4 separate regions of the Homo sapiens genome follow, and regions 1, 2 and 4 are each linked to region 3. Evidence: promoter capture Hi-C in 16 types of primary human blood cells and fetal thymus (Javierre and others, 2016). All regions are on one chromosome and are shown on one strand. The core of a region is centred on a gene start or on the middle of the fragment in contact, and the rest is flanking DNA. Distances in the headings are between cores, read along the strand shown.

The links. Contacts are between HindIII fragments. The CHiCAGO score rates a contact against its expected background, and 5 or more counts as called.
Region 1: a fragment that was not itself captured here is called in contact with the fragment with the promoter of RYR3 in region 3 in 2 of 17 cell types (erythroblasts and megakaryocytes); the score reaches 7.5 in erythroblasts.
Region 2: a contact is called between a fragment that was not itself captured here and the fragment with the promoter of RYR3 in region 3, in 1 of 17 cell types (erythroblasts). The highest score is 5.0, in erythroblasts.
Region 4: a contact is called between a fragment that was not itself captured here and the fragment with the promoter of RYR3 in region 3, in 4 of 17 cell types (erythroblasts, megakaryocytes, M1 macrophages and 1 more). The highest score is 16.3, in erythroblasts.

Annotation. Positions count from the first base shown.
Region 1 is chr15:33,595,136-33,597,835 of GRCh38, forward strand. All of the region lies in intron 16 of RYR3 (ryanodine receptor 3), which reads left to right. Among named protein-coding and RNA genes, the nearest start is that of RYR3, 290 kb to the left of the region's middle. The HindIII fragment of the contact is 8,809 bases long and covers 1-2,700 here.
Region 2 is chr15:33,570,043-33,572,742 of GRCh38, forward strand. All of the region lies in intron 12 of RYR3 (ryanodine receptor 3), which reads left to right. Among named protein-coding and RNA genes, the nearest start is that of RYR3, 260 kb to the left of the region's middle. The HindIII fragment of the contact is 6,374 bases long and covers 1-2,700 here.
Region 3 is chr15:33,309,682-33,312,460 of GRCh38, forward strand. It overlaps RYR3 (ryanodine receptor 3), which reads left to right and starts at 1,286. Exons shown (of 104, transcript NM_001036.6): 1 at 1,286-1,415. The coding sequence starts at 1,365. It overlaps RYR3-DT (RYR3 divergent transcript), which reads right to left and starts at 978. Exons shown (of 3, transcript NR_120327.1): 1 at 897-978. RefSeq lists enhancers at 1,507-2,018, 2,019-2,528. The HindIII fragment of the contact is 6,631 bases long and covers 1-2,779 here.
Region 4 is chr15:33,611,418-33,614,190 of GRCh38, forward strand. It overlaps RYR3 (ryanodine receptor 3), which reads left to right. Exons shown (of 104, transcript NM_001036.6): 19 at 1,766-1,958. Among named protein-coding and RNA genes, the nearest start is that of RYR3, 300 kb to the left of the region's middle. RefSeq lists an enhancer at 1,319-1,820. The HindIII fragment of the contact is 5,835 bases long and covers 1-2,773 here.

The DNA.
Region 1 (2,700 bases), core at 14-2,513, 290 kb after region 3:
ACACTTGATACTACAAAATAGGATTACAGGTCATTGTAAAGTCATTTATTTAAGTGATAATTCAAGCATTTCAAAAAGTGAAAACCTTCATTCTTTGAGAGAGAAGACTTAATTTTCTAAACAAGGAAGCCCTAATAGAAACAGCATGAAGTCAATTACGTTTGCTTTCAAACTTTTATAAACAATTTATAAAATTTAATCTTGATTATAAAATATAACTTCCGTAAGCCTTTTGTAACCTTTATAATCTTTATTAAGAAGTTGGTTAATGCTTCAAGAAAACCTTGTTAATCTGACACAGGGGTCCATATACTGGTTTTGCATCAGTTTGCCTTTAACATTAATAATTAGTTTATAGAGGAACTGCACTTATTTTATCTTTCAAAATTGGCCCACCTTACAATCTTATAATCTTACACACCCACCTGTTTGGAGACAGTCCCTGGGCCTTGAGGAGTTGAATAGCTTTAATTTCTTGCCCTGTGTCTCAGGAATGCAGTTTATTTTGATTGACATCTTCTATCGGGCCTGAAGATGAGCCTTCAATTGCTATCAGTGTTTAAGATTTAGCAGGACTTGGTGTCCTTTTTAGACCCAGGAGTTAGAGCCCTGTAACTCAATGTTACAAGAACTTTAAAAGCACATACAGGAAGATACATGGATGTAATAATGTAATAACCTTAATTTAAAAAAAAATTTATCTCAGTTTTTTTCCCTAAGCAAACCAAAACTTCATATGACAACTTGATTGTGTGAATTTTTTTTAAAGTGTAAATCCTCTTATTGTGACTTACACTGACTGCTCATGACAGGGTTGGACTTTCTGATTTATTCTGAACATCCCTCCTTTTTAAAAAATCAGTGATTTTATTTTAGGACTAAATTTACCATACAAGATTCTTTCTTATATAAAATTATTTCTCTTTAAGTTTTTCACCTCAAAAAAAAAAGCCTCTTTATTTTTATAACTTTCTTTACGTCTTTTTTATTCCTGGTTCCTTTTACCTTGTTGTATACATAACCTTTAAGTTTTGAATTAGACAAAACTTGTTCACTTTTTTTTAAGGACACACTTTTTTTTTCTTTAACAATAATGTTTTCCTACAATATGTATTTATTGGAAAATACCCAAATAGTGAAATATCTATTATTTGATTTAATATAGCTTTATATTCTAAATTATGACCAGTTTGTCTACAAATATTTGTGCCATTACATTTACCTAATTGTTTTGTTTACCTAGATTATTCACGAAAACTGTGACAGTCATTATTTAAAGTTATAAAACTGCCGTTGCAAAATTATAACTGAGACACTGAAAAGAGATTTGATCTGACCAACTCAATATTGTTCTTTTTTTGGGGGGGGGGGATTTCTGACTTCTTTTTATTTATTTATTTTAAGTGGATGAATAATACTTGTACATGTTCATGGGGTACATAGTGATGTTGTGATACATATAATATACATGGTAATCAGATCAGGGTAATTAGCATGTCCACCATCTCAAACATTTATCATTTCTTTGTGTGGGGAATAGTCAATATCCTCCTATTTGAAACCATATAATATATTATTGTTAACTATTAGATTGGTGCAAAAGTAATTGCAGTTTGCCATTCCTTTCAATGGCAAAAACCATAATCTCTTTGCTATAGAACACTAGAACTTATTCCTCCCATCTAGCTGTAATTTTGTATCATTAAACAAATCTGTCCCTATCCTTCTCTTCCCCCACCCCTCCCTCTTAACCTGCAAGCTGTCCTTGTTCATTCCTGGGCATAGGCCGAACTAACTTTGAGAGGAACATAGTTTGTAGTTTAGCTTTGAAATAGACAATAACAGTTCTTTCCCAAAACAAACCTCCTTATTGCCTGTGGACTAGACTGCCTAAAGCCACCGGATTAGAAGTTACGGTAATCTTACTAAATTCAAGATACAACTATTATCATTAAACCCTTATCAATGTCTTATTTATTACAAATTACAAAAGCAAAGATTATTCTGTTTTGGGCTGGGCTTGTAGTTTTGTAACCCCTATGCCAAATTTTGACACCTTACAGTATTTTGGCAGGGATAAGTATGAAATTGCTTGATGAATAAATGCAAACAAAAATGTATGCTGGGCAATACTTAAGGCATTTATAATAGTAGTTTACCAGTAATTTTAAAGCTAGCTTATTTATTAAAGATTTCACTGGCCAGGCGCAGTAGCTCACGCCTGTAATCCCAGCACCTTGGGAGGCTGAGGTGGGCAGATTACGAGGTCAGGAGTTCGAAACCAGCCTGGTCAACATAGTGAAACCCTGTCTCTACTAAAAATACAAAAAATTAGCTGGGTTGTGGGCGCCTGTATTCCCAGCTACTCAGGAGGCTGAGGCAGGAGAACCGCTTGAACCCGGGAGGCGGAGGTTGCAGTGAGCCAAGATTGCACCACTGTACTCCAGCCTGGGCGACAGTGCAACAGTGTGAGACTCTGTCTCAAAAAAAAAAAAAAGATTTTACTTAAGTTACAGGAACTTTAAAAAGCATTTTATTTAGTCTTTAAATAGGAACTTTAAAATAAGGACTAAACAGGAACTTTAAAAAGCATTTATTTAGTCTTATTTAGTATATAGTTTAAGAGCTTTTATTTTTTAAGCCAATTATTTAGAGCTCTTTTATATATTGTTAGTAGTAAAACATTCTGTACACACAAAA
Region 2 (2,700 bases), core at 88-2,587, 260 kb after region 3:
TTTAAATGGTGTCTTTTGAAGCACAAACGTTTTAATTTTTGATTAAGTTCAGTTTAACATATTTATGGATTCTGCTTTTGGTGTCATATCTAAGAACTCTTTACCTTACTCAAAATCATCATGATTTTCTCCTCTGTGTTTTTCTAAAAGTTTCAAAATTTTAGCGTTTACATTTAGGTCCGTGATCTATTTTGAGTCTATTTCTGTGCATAGTATGAGGTAAAGGTTTAAATTAATATTTTTGCGTGTGGCCATATGGATATCAGATTTTCCCCTGCACAGTTTTCTGGAAAGAGAATATTTCCCCATCAAGTTACCTTGGCACCTTTGTCAAAAGCCAAGTGATCATAAATATAAGAGTTCTTTCTGGACGCTTAGTTCTGTTCCATTGATCTATATGCCTGTCATTATTCCAAAATGACACTGTCTTAATTAATGTGCCTTTATAGTAAGTATTGAAATCATGTACAGTGAATGCTCCAATTTTTTACTTCTTTGCAAAATTTATTTTGGTGCTTCTGGGTCCTTTGTATTCCCATGTAAATTTTAGAGTGAGTTTATTAATTTTTGTCCAAAAAAAATTCTGCTGGAATTTTGATGGGTATTAAATTGAATCTAGAGATCAGTTTTGGAGGACTGTTATCCTCATTAAGTCTTCCAATCTTCAAACATAAAATGTCTATTTATTTTTTAATTATTTTCAGGAAGATATTGTGGTTTTTATTATATAAGTCTTGCACTTCTTTTATGAAATGTATTCCTATGTATTTGATTCTTTTTGGTGCTACTACAAATATAATTATTTTTTTGATTTCATTTCAGATTATTTTCTGGTATATAGAAATTAAGTTTTAAAAATACTGATCTTATGTCATTGACCTAATTGAAATTATTTATTAGTTCAGTGGGCTTTTTGGGGAGCAGGTGGATTCTTTAGAACTTTTTACATACAGGATTATGTCATCTGTGAATAAAAAGAGCTTTATTTTTTTCTTTCCAATAGGGATGCCCTTTATTTATTTTTCTTGCATTATTGCACTGGCTGGAACATCCACTACAATGTGGAATAAAAGTGATGTGAACAGACATTCTTGTCTTGTTCCTGATCTAAGGTGGGGGTGGGGACAGGGTGGGAAACACCAATTTTTCACCGTTAAGTGCGATATTGACTGTAGGGTTTTTGTAGATACCCTTTATCAGGTCGAGGAAGTTCCCTTCTATTCCTGGTTTGTTGAGAGCTTTTATCTTGAATGAGCATTAGATTTTTTCAAATGCTTTTTCTTGGTCTATCGATATGATCATATAGTTTTGTCCTTTGTTAATATGGTTTATTACATTAACTGGTGGAGAATCGGGTATTGATGTTTCTGTTACTGTTGAATTGTCATCTTCTACTTCAATTCCATCAGTTTTTGCTTCACATATTTTGGTTTCTGTTGTTAGGTGCTTATATGTTTATAATAGATATATATTTCTGATAAATTTGCCCTTTTGTAATTTTAAACTATTTTTCTTTTTTCTTTATGAACAGTTTTGTCTTAAGTCTACTTCATAGAGCCATTCCAGGTGTCTTGAATGTGCAGATTATGTTTTTTGTTTGTATGGCATATTGTCTTCAATCTTTGTACTTTTAACTTATTTGTGTCCTTGAATATAAAGTGTGTCCCTTGTAGACAACACATATTTGATTTTTTAAAATAGTCTGACAATCTCTCCCTTTCATTGGTATGCTTCATCCATTTATATCTAATGTAATTATTTAGATAACTGGATTTATGTCTGCCACTTTGCTATTTATTTCTTATGTTTCTTTTGTTATTTTTTGGTCCTCTATTCCTCCCTTACTACCTTTTTTTGTGTTAAATAGATATTCTCTAGTGTAACATTTTAATTAATTTGGGTTTTTAAAAATACTTTTTTGAGGAGTTATTCTCTTAGTGGTTGCTCTAGGGAACTTAATATATATTTAACTTGAAATAATCCACTTCAAATTAATACTAACTTAACAAAGCAACTTTGCATTAACATTTTTCCATTCTTTGCCTACTCCTTTGTGATAATATTGCCACATATATTATATCTTCATAAGTTATAAGCTCAGCAACGCAGTTTTATAATTATTTTATGAAGTTGTTTTTTGAATAAATTACAGGAACATAAAAGAAAGATACATGTTTTTATATTGTTTCTGGTATTTACCTGCATAGTTACCTTTACCAGTATTCTTTATTTCTTTGCATGGATTCCAGTTACTGTTTGGTGTCATTTTCTTTCAGCCTGAAGGACTTCCCTTAGTATTTCTTACAAGACAAGCCTGTGACTATTTGCTGATGGACCTGTGTGTGTGGGCTGAATGACAGTTCGAGGTTCAGGCAGTTTAGAGTTCTATCCTGGATTTTGTCTTCTGCTTGTGCGGGAATGAATAGATAGCTAGGGTCCTCTCCAGTTTTTCCCGAGCATGTGTGTGGCCTTGCCCACTGCCTACTCTGCCCTGTTGGAGCTGTTTTGCCATGAGGCGGTGGGGGGAGGGAGATGGAAGCATCAACAGGCTGAAACACCATAGACTCCAACTGTTCTTCCTAAGGCTCATTAAATTAAAAAAAAAAAACTATATATACACACACACACACACACACACACACACACACTGGGCTGGGCACAATGGCTCACGCCTGTAATCCCAGCACTTTGGGAGGCCAA
Region 3 (2,779 bases), core at 36-2,535:
TGTGAAATGGCTTGGGGTTTCCAGTGTCTTCCACCATCATCAGCCCAGAATTACCACCTTCCCAGTTGCACTTCCTCCTAAATCTACATCTCTGGTGCCTTTTGCCTTGAACAGTCTCTTGCCTTGGAGCTTCTCGGCCATCAAACAGAAGGGGGCACCCTGCACCGTCAGTCAAGGCAAGGACCAATCTGGCAATCCCCAACCATGGAAAAGGACCTAAGGCTGGGTGGGATGTAGGAGCCTTCCAGGACCTGGAAGGGAGCCTCCTGTAACTACTCTCTACTCCCTTTAGAGTCCACAGGGCTGGAACTCTAAATGCAGAATAAGGTTAGGGGTGGGCAGAGAGGAAGGGTTGTGATGCCACCTGACTTCCAAATTGAGGGTGGCACAGGATCCCCCAGAAGCTCCCTGGGGTACAGAAGTCACAGCAACCCTGGACAATCCAGGGGTTTGGTAAAGTGTACTTACCAATTTTGAAGAGGGGAAGGGGTTCTCTTAAGGTGTAGAAAGGACTATCCAGGGAGTTGCAAACTTTGTTGTAAGTGGACAATCACCCTCGCTCCTCACTGCACCGTCTTCTCCTTGCCCAACAATGCACGCGGGTCCTAGCAAGGTATTCGAGTCCAGATCTCTCTCTCTCTCTCTCTCTCTCTCTCTGTCTCTGTCTCTCTCTCTTTCCTCTCTCTGTCTCTCTGTCTCTGTCTCTCTCTTTCCTCTCTCTCTCTCTCTGTCTCTGTCTCTCTCTTTCCTCTCTCTCTCTCTCTATCTCTGTCACACACACACACACACACACACACACACACACACACACACAGGCAAAGTGGGCAAAGCGGGCAAAGCGAGCAAAGCGAGAGGGTTGGTACCCAGTCTGGGCGCGCTGGAGCTAAGCAACTGGCCTTTGTTTGTGAATTGGAGCAGTTTAGGGGACATCCTCCGGTCGCCGCGGGGCGCGCGCCTCCGCTGAGTGTGCGGTGCGGTACCCAGCGGTGCGGGGGAGGCTCCACCGCGCCAGCCCAGGGCCCCCGCACCGCCCCCGCCAGCTCGACGCGCCCAGCGTTGCGCTCTCCACGGAGCGGGCGGCCGCAGCGCACTTGGCTGGGGCGAGAGGCGAGAGGGGTGGGCGGACTGCTTGGTTGGCGTTGGCGCTCTGCAGTGCAGTGGAGTGTTAGCCCAGCTCCCTATATGGTCGGGGATTAGCTTGGCGCTGCTGAGGCTGAGGCTGAGCCAGGAGCTGGAGGAGGAGGTGGAGGACGAGGACGAAAAGGAGGAGGAGAAAGAGCGCAGCAGCAGTCAGCGCACGCCGAGCGGCTGCCGGGGGAAGCAGAGGCGCCGGAGGCTGGGGCACCGCCGACGCCTCGGGAGCCATGGCCGAAGGGGGAGAAGGAGGCGAGGACGAGATCCAGTTTCTGAGGACTGTGAGTCTCCGCGGCGGGGGCGAGGCCGTGGGCAGGTGGGGAGGAGCGCGGAGCGCGGCGAGGAGGGGCTGGCTGCGCTGCGCCGCGGTGCCGGGTGCCCGGTGCCGGGCGCTTTCTCCGCACCCGCGGGCTGCAGAGGCGGACCGGCCACCTACCCGCGGGGCCGCGAGGGGCTGCGTGGGAAGGGGCACCATCTCCTGCCTCTCCCTTGTTCCCCTACCGCCACCCCTGCCCCAGGCCCTCCACCTAGGACCGCTCGCTCTCCAGGCAACTTGCTACTTGGTCTGAAACCCTTGATGCCCAAACTTCAGCCGGGGTTTGTTCGCGGTTGTCCTGACCCATAAGATCGGCGTTGGAAGCCCTCGCCCCGGGGTCGGCCCTCTGACACCTCCATACTCCACCCCAGCCCCATTCCTCTTCCAGGGCGCCCCCACGCACAGGGGAACCTCCGGGAAGGAGCCAGCGGGGCAGGGGGGAGTGTGGGGAGCCGGGTCGGAGAAGCGGGCGCAGGCGCTTGGTCCTAGCCCTGGGATCGCTCGGAGGGGAATTCACCCAGCGCTGCCCCTCTCGTGTTAAGCCCCACGCCGGCAACTGCTGCTGGAGCCTGACTTGACTGACTGCCTGTCGTGTGTTCGAGAGCTGTGGCTTCTGCTCCTGGCTCCCGCGAGCCCCGCAGGACAGGGAAACCCCAGTCAGTGGCTCCGCGTCACTCAGGTCCCCTCCTTGACACCTGAGGGCGCTGCTCCGTCCCAGATTTGGGGGTGAGGGGGCGAAGTCTGTTGCAGCCACACCAGCCTTGCCCTGTAGGAGATAATACAAAGACTTTCAGGGTGGACGGCCACCCGGAGGGGTGGGGGCATTGGGGATGCATCCTAGCGCTGACTTCAGCCAAGTGACCTTGAGCAAGTCGCATAATCCGCCCTACTCAGCCTCAGTTTCCTCATGTGTAAAATAAAATGTAACCAGCGTTTCAGGGTGATAAGGATTAAACGTTATCGTGAATGTCATAATGTTTTGTAAACGGCAAATCGCTCTGTAAATCTTAGGTAATTTTATATGCGCTGCCTTGCTCTCAGGAATTAGAATGAAATTCTTTCTTTCCCTCTCTCACTTCCCTTTAAGGGTGCCCCCTTCTCCATGACCTGGTCTTCGAAGATCACAACTTACCTCTTGTCCATCTTTTGAACCACTCTCCTCCTGTTGAAGCGCTTCCTTCCAATTTACTTCAGTTTCTCTTCCAAACATGGTTCTTTTGTCAAAGCTGGGACTTGGGTCTTATTTGGGGGGGGTATGGAAGTACCTATCGCCCTGCTGGTACTACTGAGAGGCTAGAGTATTCATCTCTTCATCCTTCGTCTGACCTG
Region 4 (2,773 bases), core at 9-2,508, 300 kb after region 3:
TGGTGGCGGGCACCTGTAGTCCCAGCTACTTGGGAGGCTGAGGCAGCCTCCTGGCGTGAACCCAGGAGGTGGAGCTTGCATTGAGCCCAGATTGTGCCACTGCACTCCAGCCTGGGCGACAGAGTGAGACTCTGTCTCCAAAAAGAAAAAAAAATGTGTATAACTCCATAAAATATATATAACTCCATCAAAATAGAGTGTGTACATATATATTTGGAAGAATTTTTATGGAGTTATATTTTTTCTTTTGTATTTATTTGAGACAGGGTCTCATTCTGTCGCCCAGGCTGGAGCGCAGTGGCATGATCTCAGCTCACCTCAGCCTCCACCTCTTGGGTTCAAGCTATCTTTCCACCTCAGCCCCCTAAGTAGCTGGGACTACAGGTGCACGTCATCACGCCCAGCTAATTTTTGTATCTTTAGTAGAGACAGAGTTTCACCATGTTGGCCAGGCTGGTCTCAAACTCCTGAGCTCAAGCGATCTGCCTGCCTTGGCCACCCAAAGTGCTGGGATTATAGGCATGAGCTCCCCAGCCTTTTTGTATACTTTCCTGTATAAATGGTGACCATTTATAATGAATACATATTATTTCTGTAATCAAGAAACAAGATATCTTTTTATCTTTTGCTGGAAGCTCTATTTTAAAACCTAACTCCTCTTTTGTTGCTCTCTTTCTAATAGAAATGTAAACCTGAGAGGGGAGGGGTAGGTGGTTATAATTATTAATATTTACTTTTAGAATTTCCAGAATAAGATGATATAGGAAAGCAGAGAGGTGATTTTCCTCACTACTTTAAGTCAGGAAATAATAAATCATCTAATGAAAGAGATGTGAAGAAGTTTTTTAATCAATTCAGAGTATAACTGGCAATGTGTTTTCCTGCTTATCCGAAATAATAAAGTTCTTTAAAACAAATAAGCAAACTACGTAGCATAGTTTTTTTGTTTGTTTGTTTTTTGAGATGGAGTTTCACTCTTGTTGCCCAGGCTGGAGTGCAATGGCACGGTCTCGGCTCTCTGCAACCTCTGCCTCCCGGGTTCAAACGATTCTCCTGCCTCAGCCTCCCGAGTAGCTGGGATTACAGGCATGCGCCACCACACCCGGCTACTTTTGTATTTTTAGTAGAGACGGGGTTTCTCCATGTTGGTCAGGCTGGTCTCGAACTCCTGACCTCAGGTGATCCACCTGCCTCAGCCTCCGGAAGTGCTGGGATTACAGGCGTGAGCCACTGTGCCCAGCCTATGTAGCATAGTTTAATGGCTAGATGGCCTTGCCATTCTTCTCTTTGATGGCTTCTCTATTCAACTCTACAGCAGTCTAATCTTTTTGAGGAAGTAGAAGACAGGAAGGTCTTTGGGCACTTACAACTAAACAGACACACACACCAGCTACTTCTGAAGAGCAAGCTACACCAGCAAAAGCAGTCTGTCTGTTACTTCAGACACCAGGCCACAGTCTGAACACTCATTGAGCACATTAAGTTTTTGTTATTTCTCATTCTTAGCAGCTTGAGCATTTCCCCTGAGACTCATCGCAAATCAGGCATGGTGTCTGCCCACTCGCCAGCTTAGGAATTCATTTCTCATTGCTCATCTCACACAAAAGGAAACAAAAGGAAAGTTGCATTTCAAATGCAGTAGTACCTCCGGACCTCTTGAGTACCCATCACACCTCCCCACCTCCCGCAGAGGCCTCTGAGCCTTTCTCAGCCTAGCAGGTGCCTCCAGAGTTCCACAGCCTTCTTCCTGTTCTTTCCTCACCAGGCCGGATACCCAGAGCTGTGGCTTCCATCAACCAGCACCTCCTGAGATCGGATGACGTGGTAAGCTGCTGCCTGGACCTCGGGGTGCCCAGCATCTCATTCCGCATCAATGGGCAGCCCGTGCAGGGGATGTTTGAGAACTTCAACACAGACGGGCTCTTCTTCCCTGTGATGAGCTTTTCAGCAGGTGTCAAGTAAGTTATGGCTGTGATTTCATGGAGAGTAGCAGTTACCCCACCTCCCCGCCACCACTGTGAGCTGCGAAGCCAGCAGTCTCCTTCAGGGCTTCAGTACTGTGAACTAAGTTCCCCAGGACAGTGATGGTGCAAGGGCAAGAGCCAACTAGAGTCATTTGCTCCATCTCTACTGGTAGAACCTCCCCCAGGGGTTGTATTATGTACTCAGATAAACAGTAAGATTAATAGGATAAATCCTGTGTAGAAAATTAATAATTATAAAAGTATTACATGCTCATTATAAGAAAAACTTCAAAGACAATAGTTATGAACAACACAGTAAAAATCACCTATGATTCCAATGGTTAGCTATAATCTCTATTAATACTTTGGCATATTTTTCAAGTCCTTTCTTCTACAAATATACATCATTTTTTAATTGGTATTACACCGAATATGAAGTTTATGTCTTGATTATCTTTTATTCAACAATAATGAGCCTTTTCCTGAGTCATTGAGTATCTTCAAAATGATTTTATAGCCATATAATAGCCCTTTATTTGGCTGTTTCATGATACAGCCATTACTTTGCTGTTCAAGTCTATGCCAATTTCATTTTTGGTCAGAATGCATGTGTGCTTTAAAGTCTAAATTTATAATTATGTGGCCAAATTGATTTTGAGATTCTCTAAACAGTTCAGAATTCCTTATCAATAACTTTAGAATCTAAAAAGCTCTGAAAACCATAAATTTGTTCATAACTCATTTTGTAATAAAATCTAACCTGAACTCATTTTGTGACAAAACTGTCATCAGCAGAAATGAGGCTGTTT